Linked DNA regions of Homo sapiens: region 1 is linked to region 2. The links are contacts of gene promoters, found by promoter capture Hi-C in human tissues and cell types (Jung and others, 2019). All regions are on one chromosome and are shown on one strand. Each heading gives the region's core, a stretch centred on a gene start or on the middle of the fragment in contact. The rest is flanking DNA. Distances are from core to core; before and after follow the strand shown. Region 1 overlaps CD86 (CD86 molecule). Region 2 holds the start of GOLGB1 (golgin B1).

Region 1 (5,825 bases), core at 3,326-5,825, 360 kb after region 2:
TTTCACTGAAATAATAACCTCAGGGAAACAGTCAATGAAGGGGTTAAAGATGTGGGAGAGTTTCCTTGTAGTAAGTAATGGAATGAGGCTTTCAAAGGGCCAAGTAAAACTTTGGAGGAAGTTTAGTAAAAGAAGGAATTTTTTTTAGTACAGATAAGCATAGGAACATAAAGAAGAGATAATTCTTAAACATATAAGATATGCATTTGGGGATAGCAGCCAGGGAACACTGAAGTCCCAGTGGGGTCAGAGACTTCATAAGGCTAGCAAATTACAGTTTTTGAGTGGCATTCCAACAGTAGAGTGTATTGCTCAGGAAGTCCTTAATTATCCTTTGAAACAAATTCCTTCAGCTGATTACGAAGGCATCTAGCTGGATTCTTGAGCGACTTGTTCCTGACATCATAGCAACCCATTGTAACTAGACTTCGACCATTCCTCTTACCCAAGTGCTGGGGAAGGGAGAGATTCTCAATGCTTACCCACCTATGGAATCCCAGTAAGTCCAGTTGCTAGGTGGCTTGAGGTCTGGGGTCATAAAATGGAAGGCCTGAAGTCATTTGGTGATCACAGACCTTGAGCCAAACTTTCCCCATTTAGTCAGAGAAAGGATTAGCAGCATCCCCCATGCCTGGCTCTGTGTGAGATCATGGAAGCCAGTGGTTGGTGAGGTGCTATGGAGTATAAATTGCAAAATACTTTCAGTTCCACTCAGAATGGATTTCAAAGTGATTTCCACCCCATGGGGAGGAGAGGGAGTCTGAGGAGGGATGGATGGAAAAAAAATTTTCATGTCATTTTCTGTGATCCACTCTGGAGACAGAGGCAGAGATTCTCTACAACAGCTGCTCAAACTATAGCTCTTGTTAAAATGGAGGTTCTGAATCAGTAAGTCTTGGGTGGGGCCAGAGATTCCGTGTTTCAGACCAGCCCACATGTGACGTGAATCTCATTGGTCCATACATCACACTTTCAGTTGCTAGGTGAAGAAGGGAGCACTCGATGAGTGGAAGAGAAAGCCGTTGTAATCTTTGGGAGAAGGGGCCTGGGTCAGCGGAGTTAGACTGGTCTGTGAGTGGACAGAATGGATGGGAAGGAAAGAAGATACTGTGAGGCTCTACAGAAAAAAAAAAAAAAAAAAATATATATATATATATATATATATATATGTAAATCAAGAAGACAGAAGCAGCTAAAGACGAAGTCATTTCCAGGTCCAGAAGGCACAACTGACAGCTGAGTAATAACATAACATTGACTGTTAATTGGCAGAATTTTTAACTGTGTGTTTGGTTTCTCCATCAGGTCATCTGTCCTATATTACATGACAATTTAGACTAAAACCAGTATTTCCTCAGAGACAATGCTAGAAGCTTTTACAGTAGGGGGCACTCTTGCATTACATTAAGAGCTCAGCAAAGAAGATGCAGAAGCCTCAGGTTTGCCTTGTAAGGTGATTCATAAACACACTAAATCTTCCTTAGGTCTCCCTTTCACTGTCAGGGTACGCATATAGATTTTCCTTCCTCCCTCCAATACCGGTACGCATCCTCTACAGGTGGTGCATTTTATACCTCAAGTACTTCACAGGGTCCTAGTGAGTGTAGTGAAATAGGCAGTGATTCATATTTGTGCAAACTCCCACTGATGCCTGCTGTCTGCTTCCCTAAGAGTTCAAGACCACCACCAACCCCTTGATTATGTGTTCTCACTGGGCCACTCTGTACACAGTTTAGTTTGACAAGTGCATGTCACTGTTATCTGTCCTTCTATTCCCTCTTTCAAGAGAAACCACATCAATTTAATTACTCCCCCACTTAGAACTCTTCAAATGAAGCTCCTCTCATCTCTCTCATCAACCCATCTCCTCCCTTTCCTCCTCAATGTCAACATGCCTTCACATAAATCCTGAATGATGAAATTTTATTTAGAACTTACACTAACTTCCTCTCCAAGGTGGCATCTAACTTCATATTAAGTAAGAAACAGCCTTCCCACTCTCCACCCCCGCACTTCTCACCCACCACTGCTTACTTTTTTTTTTTTTTTTTTTTTTTTTTTGCCAAGTCTCAAGTAATTCTGTAACCTAGAAAAGGTCCTACACAAACCCCGTGATCATTCACATTTAAGTAGTTGGGTGGCCCACATCCTTCCCACAAACCCCAAAGTGTCCTCAAGGACTAAAGCCTTTCTCTCAACCCTTCCAGCATGATGTCTATGGTTGTAAAATTGTCCAGGGTCAGTGCATACTGGGAGCAGCAAGTTTGTGGTGCCTGGGGTTTCCCCAATACTCCCAAAGCACATCCTCACCTGCCCATCTATGATTCATTTTCAGCATTTCACTCATGTGCCTTAAATGGTCATTGACCACCACAATCCGAAAACAGCCATCAAATTTGCCCAGTTCTCTTTCTGATCTCTGAAAGAGCTTAGAGAGGTCACTGAAAATAAAGGCCTTGGTTCACTATCGAAGTCATTTCTAAAGCATTTGACATCCTTGGAAGTGCTGGCCATGGGAGCAGCAGTCATAGGGGAAGTTCTGTAAAGGGAGCTATTTGAATTTCAAAGATGTTACTCAACGTGATTCCCCAACTAATGAAGTATAATAAAGGGGGGCTATAATTTATTACCATTATCAGCAATCTTTTCACCATAGCAGACCAAGGAATATGTGGATGGGAGGGGAGGGGAAAGCTTTTGGTGATGGTGTAGAAGTTATGGAACCTGTAACAGCTACAGTGATGAAAACTAAAATTAAGGTTATAGGAAGGTAACTGGTGGGTGAATGGGTTGTCTAACTCTACTGGTTTTTCCCTGTCTTGCAATTTAAATTCACAGAACCACAGTACTAGAAAGACCCTTGGAACATTTAGTCAACCACTTCATTAATCAGATGAGGAAACTGAGGCTCATAAAGATTGCAGTTTGTACAAGGCCACACATTTAGTCAGCGGTGAAGCAAGGACAAAGGTCCTAATCTCCAGATGCCAAGCAGATGTGCACAGTTCCAGAGCTTAATATCTTATTCTTCAGCATGATTACTGATAAGATAGTATCTGGGTATTGTATAAAGAGAAATGGAGGTTTTTTCCCCTTTCCTCTTGTTTCTCCCTCCCTAATCCTTAACCTTCTTTTTTAGGTGCTGCTCCTCTGAAGATTCAAGCTTATTTCAATGAGACTGCAGACCTGCCATGCCAATTTGCAAACTCTCAAAACCAAAGCCTGAGTGAGCTAGTAGTATTTTGGCAGGACCAGGAAAACTTGGTTCTGAATGAGGTATACTTAGGCAAAGAGAAATTTGACAGTGTTCATTCCAAGTATATGGGCCGCACAAGTTTTGATTCGGACAGTTGGACCCTGAGACTTCACAATCTTCAGATCAAGGACAAGGGCTTGTATCAATGTATCATCCATCACAAAAAGCCCACAGGAATGATTCGCATCCACCAGATGAATTCTGAACTGTCAGTGCTTGGTATGTGGTCAATGGTGTGTGTTCAGATTCTTAGCCTTCTCAGATGAGACTGCAAATGAGTTAGAAAAACACTGGAGGGGGACTTGAGGGGCCCAGGGGAAAAGGGGGGTCTATAGAGAGAAGGCAGAGGACAGCCACTTCTGGGAAGTGCATTTGAAGGGAGTGTAGAGTCTGGGAGTAGGGAACTGAAAGTCTTTTGTACTTTTTATAGTCTGCTTCTGAAGGATCAGTAAAAATCTGCTTTGGGGAAAAAATAGAGCTAATTGAACAAAGATAATATGGCTAATTACCTATAGTAAAAACCATGGATAATTTGGCCATCACAAAGTTTATATAACCATAAAGGCCTCAGATGTCTTACATTCATTTTTTCCTTGGGTCCAAGATTTTTCACCTACTAAATCTTTGCCTGGAGCTCCTAGCAAAGCGGACAGCTGACACATTTGGGTTTTCCCTTCAGCCTCCTCTAGGTTGCTTATGAGTTGTTTGCTGCCACAACCATGAGCCTGGTAGACAGAAGGGAAAAAAACCCAACAAACATAACCCACAAACTTACAAACCAGCTCCTCTGCTTCACGAGACCTTGGAAGGCCTAAATGCCACTACAGATTTTTTTAAAACTATCACACAGTAAAATTATTTTTTTTTGTTTTGATATACTGTTCTACTGATTGTATAGATCTTGTATAGATTTAGGTAACCGCCACAGGACATAGAGCATTTCTATCACCCTAAAAATTTCCCTCAGGCTGTCCCTTCATAGAGTCATACCCTGTCTGCACTCATAACCCTTGTTGGGCATCCTATAGTTTTGTCTTTTTGACAGTGTCACATAAGTGAAGCCACACAGTATGTAACCTTTTAAGCCTGGCTTCTTTCGTTTAGCGCGCCTTCGAGATTCACCCAAGTTGTTGCACATATCGAGCTTGTCCCTTTTTATTGCTGAGTAGCATTTTATTGTTTATCCATTCAACTCAGTAAAAGACATTGGGTTGTTTCTGGTTTGGGGCTCTTATGAATAAGGCTGCTGTAAACGTTCATGTACAGGTTTTTGTGTGAACATAAGTTCTCAGTTCTCTAGAGGAAATACCCAGGTGTGGTATTACTGGATCCAGGTTAATTTTTGATGAAACTTGAAAAGGCAGATCAACACCTATTCTAAAACCATAGAGTAAAACAGAAGCAAAAGTAAAAATAGAATGGAGAGCTGCTCCCTTTGAACCCTGTGTGATTTAAACTAGGCTGCAGGGCTTTAGGAATAGTTAACCAAGTGCTAAATCCGTGTTTTCAAAATGTGGTCAGGTACCATTGGAAATGTTTTAGGTGGGACACAGATAAGCATTTTGAAAAGCCATGTTGTATTTGTTTTAATGTATATTAGAAAAACTCTAACTTACGCAACATGTGATTTCACAGATCTTGTTAATGAAGCTAAACACGGTCTGGCAATTCACCTTCTACAGGCCACATAGACTCCAAGAAGACTGCTCAAATAGTACACTGATATAGCAAAACTTATAAAGATGACATGCAAATGACAGACCTTTTAGTAAGAATACACTAAATTATAAATTAGTTTGTAGAACCTGCAAACTACCTAGTAACTATAAAAGAACAAGGGATTTTTTCTGACAGAAGGCACATGACACAGGTCTAGGGACTCCATGCCAGTGATCCTGAACAGCCAGAAAAGTGAGAATGGCAAAGGCAAGAGAAACACTGTGTTTATTAAGATCATGTATTTTTCCCTAAAATAGCTGGATTTGGCCTTCTTCTTAGAGTATGTTATGAAGACACTTTGATGCTCATGCCAAAAATCAGTGTTCTGAATTTCGAATTCCAAAATATCCACCCACTCACTTACCACAATCCTGCTTGGGTTTCTGAAAGATATGACGCAGGGCATCTCAGCACCATGAACTCTGTCAGTTCCTGGTGAGACTCCAGCTCAATTCCTTCCTGCTCTCTTAGTCTGGGGAGCTGGAATGTGCCCCATGGGACACCTGGGCCCTAGAGTCAGACCACTTCTCCTTCCAAAGACTCTACTCCCTGGAAACAGTGGCTTCATTGTAAATCTTTGGTGACTCAATTACAGCCCTCCTGTCACTTAGAGAGCACCCCTTTGATTTGGATAAGCAGGAAGTAAGCATGGCTGCAAACTCTATTGTTGAAAAATAAACATGAAGTCATTATGTGGCACTCACCTTGGGCTGAGGGTCACATTTTAGACACCCTGAGGCTCCCAGGTGTGCCCCAATGAGCCCCAGATCAAGTACCCAGTTATTTGCTATTCCCTCCTAGATACATCTAAACTTAGATTGATTTTTTTTTATCTCTCTTCTGCTTTCAG
Region 2 (6,353 bases), core at 3,210-5,709:
ATACATATGTATACGTGTATGTATATATACATATGTACACGTGTATGTATATATACATATGTACACGTGTATGTATATATACATATGTACACGTGTATGTATATATACATATGTACACGTGTATGTATATATACATATGTACACGTGTATGTATATATACATATGTACACGTGTATGTATATATACATATGTACACGTGTATGTATATATACATATGTACACGTGTATGTATATATACATATGTATACGTGTATGTATATATATACATATGTATACGTGTATGTATATGTATACATATATGTAAAGATTAATAAAGGGGAATAGTCATATTCATAGTCATAAATTCATGTAAGGAATATGTATGACTGTTGGACAATGTTCTTGCTGTTATTTTATAAGGCACCAAAATAATGAATAGCAACTAAGGAAAAGAATAAAACACAGAGCTTCATGCCAAGGCCAGGGATTCCATAAAACACTAAGGCAAATAAAACAATTCCTCAGTCTATGCTGGTCACAGCTTTCACAAACCCTGCCACAGGACCTTAACACTTATGTGTTGAAGTGGCACTCAGAATTAAGTAAGTTTTATTTTCTCCAAGTCTTCACTGTTATCAATGATTATTCTTATAACAACCACCTGGTGTTCAGCATTATGCTAGGAACTATAAAAATATAAAAAGAATTATAAAGCATGTCCCTAGCCACCGAAAACAGAACAATATGCACAGGAAAATAAGCAAAATAACTGAAGACAGTGAGTGCATGCCTGTGTATATATGCATATATGCCATCTACTTTGGAATTTAAATCACATTTTCCCACAGAAACACAGAGAAGGTGGTTAGGTTTCAGTTGAGGTGACTCCTCAAACTTATTTCATGCTTATTTAGTTAAGCCTCAGTAGCTGTCCTTAATTCCTTAAATCTCAAAGTGATTTTCAACCAAGTTGAGGGGCTAATGGGTAGTGCTGTATAGCTGGAAATAACACATTCGATATTATGACATAATTTTACAATTAGAAAATGAACAACTATTTTTCATGATGCAGAAGCCACTATTTTAATTAAATGAATTTGTAAGTGGTAGCTATAACATACATACACAGCGTGACCTGCCAAACACTGCTCCAATATCTTTACACATAACTTACTTTTCGTTATTTAACTCACTTTATTTATTTATTTATTTATTTATTTATTTAATGTTATTTATTTTGAGACGGAGTTTCACTATTGTCGCCCAGGATGGAGTGCAGTGGCGCGATCTCACTACAATCTCTGCCTCCTGGGTTCAAGCGATTCTCCTGCCTGAGCCTCCCCAGTAGCTGGGATTACTGGTACCCGCTGCCACGACTGGCTAATTTTTGGTATTTTTAGTAGAGACAGGGGTTTCACCATGTTGGCCAGGCTGGTCTCAAACTCCTGACTCCAAGTGATCCACTCGCCTTGGCCTCCCAAAGTGCTGGGATTACAGGCATGAGCCACTGCGCCCGGCCTAACTCACTTTATTCTTAAAACAACCGCAAGAGGGAGTACCGTCAATATTCCCAGTTTTAAGGTGAGTAAACTAAGGCAGAGGGATGTTAAGTAATTTCCCCAGTCACATAGTTCGACAAAGCTTCTTGGTGGGTGAAGATACACAGAAAATATTTTATTTTCTGAATAATCTCATTATCCAATATTCTTTACTCGGGTTGAAAACAGAATGAAGGGATAAAGGCACTATGTTAATAGTTAGGTAAGTACTTTTTTTTAAAGCAGTAAGTAAACTAAAATGATTCATATTAGTATGGCCCCAAATAATTCCATATTGTTTATACCACAGACAGGTTCACACAAGGGCCCTAAGATATATATACATGGATGTTATATATATATATATATATATATATATATATATATATATATATGGATGTTACATAACAAAACATGTTATGTATGGATGTTACATAACAAAACAAAAATCCATGTGTGTATATATATATGTATATATGTATATATGTATATATATGTGTATATATGTATATATGTATATATGTGTATATACGTATATATGTATATATATGTGTATATACGTATATATACGTATATGTCTATATACGTATATATATACATATATACGTATATATATGTATATATATACATATATACACATGGATGTTATATAACAAAACACTACAGCAGTGTTTTGATGGCTAATGACTGAAAATCTAAATGTCCATCAATGGGGACAGGCTAAATACTATTTTTATATTTTTACAAAGGACTGCTGTGTAGCCATGGAAAGGATGAGGTAGTTTTATACCCATGGATATTGAAAGTGCCTAATATACAGTACTAAATGGCAAAAGCATGTGTATTAGGATTCCACTTGTGGGAAAGACAGAAGGGGGTATATATTATCATGTGCTTTATTATGATCAGAAAGTTTCTTAAATATAACCAAGAAATTATTTACAGTGCTTACTTCTGGGAAGTGGGGAATGGAGATGGGTAGATCAGTAGATAGAAAAGAAAAAGACTTTTTTTACATTGTATCCTTCTGTATTAAATTTCCTTTTATCAAAAGCATATAGCTGATTTTAAAATAGCTTAATTAAAAATACAGCAATATAGAGCTTAGTCTCCTTTTACATAATGGTTTCTAACCACAGACTGGTATGTAATGATCAGTGGTATTCCTAATAGTAATTAACCTAGAGAAATTAATGAATGATTTATTTTATAAACAAGGATAAAGTCAACATCCCTTTAATTAATCCATTAATCAAAGGGAGAAAAAGAAAGGGGGCCTATAAAACTCAAGCAGAAGGTTGAAAAAAATCTTCTAAAGATCATGTTTAAGAAAGGCTGCATCCCAGAGTCTGGATGCCAGAAATGCCAACGACCTTCTTGAAAAACAAGGAAGTATCTTTACGTGATTGTCAAATTGGGTTGGGAGGTCCCAAGGTGTGGACAAGGCTTTTTAAAAACTTCATTCTTTTACGTTTATACTTTTGCATATTTCATATTATACACAACATATTTACAGTGGTAGTCATACACTATAAATAATTAAACACACAACATTTGGGGAGATGCATGCTCAAAAATGTTTTACTGATAGGGAGTGCAATTAAAAGGTTTGGAAGCTGCTGAGGTAGTAAAAAATATTGATGCAGTGAAAAGAAAAACATTAAATGGTCATTCTGTGGTCAAGGGATGAGAAGTAAAAGCTATGAAGCAGTTAATGTACAATGCCTGCAACTTTTGAGTACTCTTCAACTTTTTCCTGCATCTATTCCAAAACCAAATCCTGCCATTTTTCCAATAGGATATTTCCTGAGTTTGCCCCTTCATAACCATTCTGACCATCTAAATCTTATCAATTCACGCTTTTGGAAAGGCCTCTGGCCCTTATGTAAAGAGCCCTCCACTTGCTTGCATCTTGCACAGAACTGTAAAAAGGTCCTTTAAATGCTCAGACAGCTTCCAACTATCTCCAAAAGTGAAAGTACTTACCCATGATTGTAAATATCCCTGTCCCACTCTCAAACTGTCCGCTCCCCATAGACCAACTGGAGCTCTTTAAATAAGTCAGACAAATATATTCCTCATTCCTCAAAGGACTCACCCTCCCTTTCACATTCCGGTTGTGCAGATTAAACATACTCCACACCATCAAACCAAGTTATTTTTCCTCGAGAACTCTCTTAGAGGTTCCTTTTTCTCTAACAGCCTGCCCACCTCTGATTCCTGGGATTTTCGTGTTGACGGGATCGTTGGGATCTTTCCTCTCTTCTCATCTTTCCAGTAACCCATTAGCATTAGCAGGATTATTGGACAGGCCTCCGTTTGCATTAATATCTCCAATGATTCTGTGATCTCCGCCCTAAAGACCTTTGATTTCTTTTGGTCGCGCCTCCCCTTCGGGACACCAAGTTTGTTTAGGGCCTGAGCACAGGGGCCCAGCAGGTTCTTTCCGACGTCAGCGGCTGCGTACGGAGGCCGACTTAGGCAGGCCGCTCCAGGAACAAGGCCGTGCGGACAGGACTGACCTAGGCGCTTTTCCCCGTCGCTCCCAGAGGAGAAACGTACCGGGGAGGGGACAGACCGTGAGCAAGTGGTCCAAGTCTGCGCAGGGTGACCCCGAAGGCCCACCGGAGAGGCCGAGGCTTGTGGGCTACTAGAACTAGGCCTGGTAGGTGAAGGAGGCGGGTGAAGGGCCGGATCCAGGACTGAATCCGGGAGAGGCGGGGCGAGGAGGGGACTCCGGTGTAGCTGCTTGGGCAGCTCCCGCGGCCCCTCTGGCGGGGGTGACCGTTATTGGACTCGCAGAGGGAAGAGTTGGGTAGCGTCCCCTACTCACCTAGAAGCGCTGCCGCCTGAGGCTCCAGCTGCCCCCCTCCCAATTCAAGCCACGTCAGCTCGGGAAGCCCGTACGCGACACCTTCCACCGCCGCGCCCCGCCAGGGACTCAGCCACTAGCAGTTGGGACGGAAGATGGGATTAAGACACCGACCAATCAGGACTATCGGCAGGACGTTACCAGGGAGACCAGGCACACCTTGTTTGTTACCAACCTATCAACAATGACGGAAACCAATCAACGACAGAAGATGCTCCGCTTCCTCAAAGAAACAGCCAATGGACCCTAAAGAGTGAATGAGGGGAGTGATTAGACGCGAGTAGGTGCCCCGGAACAAGATCTGGGGAGGGACAGGAAGTGTCGAGTGGGCGGGCGTTCTGGGAAAGGTCAGATGTTCTCAGTGTGAAGTGGTTATGCTGGCTTCCTCCAATTCCTCCTCTTCGTCGGTTGTGACTGACCGAGACAGCGGCTTGGGCTTCGGCAGAGACTTGAGACTGCGGGCACCCGCTGCCATTAGGATTGTTGAATGAGCTGTGAGAAGGGAGTGGGGGATATGGGACTCTTAGATTGAAAAAATACTGGAGCCTCTTAGTTGTTCGTCTAGTTTCACCTTTTGATTTTGTTGATGAAAAATAATTAACCACAGAAGTAACTTGCCCAAAGTCAAACAGCGACTTAGTGATGGAACTCGGACTAGAACCCGGTGTCAGTATGAAAGAGGATCAGCAATGTCTGTAAGGACATGATTGTGAGAGAGAGAGTAGTGAATACTAGGAAGGTGCCTCTTACAAAGTGGAGCCTAAGCCAGGACCTAAGCAAAGATTGAGAGTTGAGGGCTCAGGCTCTGCAATGAGTGTCAGTGAGGAGCTCCAGCAAAAGACTGAAATCACTCATGCTTTCCTTAAACCCCTAAGGAAAGGGAAGGAAAGTAGCCAGTTTCCAATGAGCTGTCATTTCAGGCACTCTCTTGGCAATAAGAGTAATGTTAGTTTGAATTTATTGAATCTTGCTGTGCACTCAGCTGGCCCATTGTATGTATACTCATCTTAATGATTACATAACTTCACAATTCAAACATCAGCTAAGTAAGGCCTTTCCTGGCTGCCCATCTTACGGAACTGGAGGTCATTATTCTAAGTGAAATAAGTCTGGCACAGAAAGACAAATATCCCATGGTCTCACTCATGTGGGAGCTTAAAAAGTTGATCTCATGGAGTAGAGATAAGTACCAGAGGCTGGGAAGGTGGAGTTGGGGGAGGGAGGGAAGAGATTGGTTAATGGGTACAAACGTAGATAGAAGGAATAAGTTCAAGTGTTTGATAGCACAGTAGGGTGACTATAGTTAACAATATGTTATATATTTCAAAATAACTAGGAGATTAGAAATGTTCCAAACACAAAAATGATAAATGTTTGAGGTGATAGATATCCTAAACACCCTGATTTGATCATTACACATTGTATGCATATATCAAACTACCACACCCCATAAATATGTACAAATATGTATCAATACAAACATAAATAAAATTGCAATTTCCTGCATGCACTATATACTTCTTCTTTGCTTCTTTTTCCCCTAAGCATTTTGCCATCTAAAGTACTATATATTTCATTTATCTGGTATCTCTCTTCTCATTAGATTATAAGCTCCAGGAAGGTAGTAATTTTGATCTCAGCTTTATCTCCAGGTCCCAGAAAAGTATAGAGGAGGGCACTCAATATCTGTTAAATTAATAAAGTATATATGATTATCCTTATCTTAAATGTGAGACAATAAGACTTCAGAAGGTTAAATAATTTGCACAAGGTCACATGGTGAGGGGCAGAGACAGAATTTGAATGCTGCAGTACTTAATGAATACATCATATTCTTATATCCCTGATTGTATCCACCCAGCAAAGTCCTAAACCTGCATCAGTCCAACCATTGGTCTCTACTTCTACCTTTGGGGAGCAAAATGCTGCAGGAGACATCAGGACAATGTCATCAGTGACATCAA

What was found. The method cuts DNA at HindIII sites, captures the fragments that hold promoters and counts their contacts. A contact is called where the count stands out against the background at its distance.
Region 1: a fragment that was not itself captured here is called in contact with the fragment with the promoter of GOLGB1 in region 2 in 1 of the 25 tissues and cell types used here (spleen).

Annotation. Positions count from the first base shown.
Region 1 is chr3:122,100,373-122,106,197 of GRCh38, forward strand. It overlaps CD86 (CD86 molecule), which reads left to right. Exons shown (of 7, transcript NM_175862.5): 3 at 3,140-3,475. Among named protein-coding and RNA genes, the nearest start is that of CD86, 48 kb to the left of the region's middle. RefSeq lists an enhancer at 688-877 and a silencer at 3,920-3,989. The HindIII fragment of the contact is 5,084 bases long and covers 2,034-5,825 here.
Region 2 is chr3:121,745,282-121,751,634 of GRCh38, forward strand. It overlaps GOLGB1 (golgin B1), which reads right to left and starts at 4,460. Exons shown (of 22, transcript NM_001366282.2): 1 at 4,351-4,460. RefSeq lists enhancers at 4,118-4,167, 4,188-4,427. The HindIII fragment of the contact is 13,718 bases long and covers 1-6,353 here.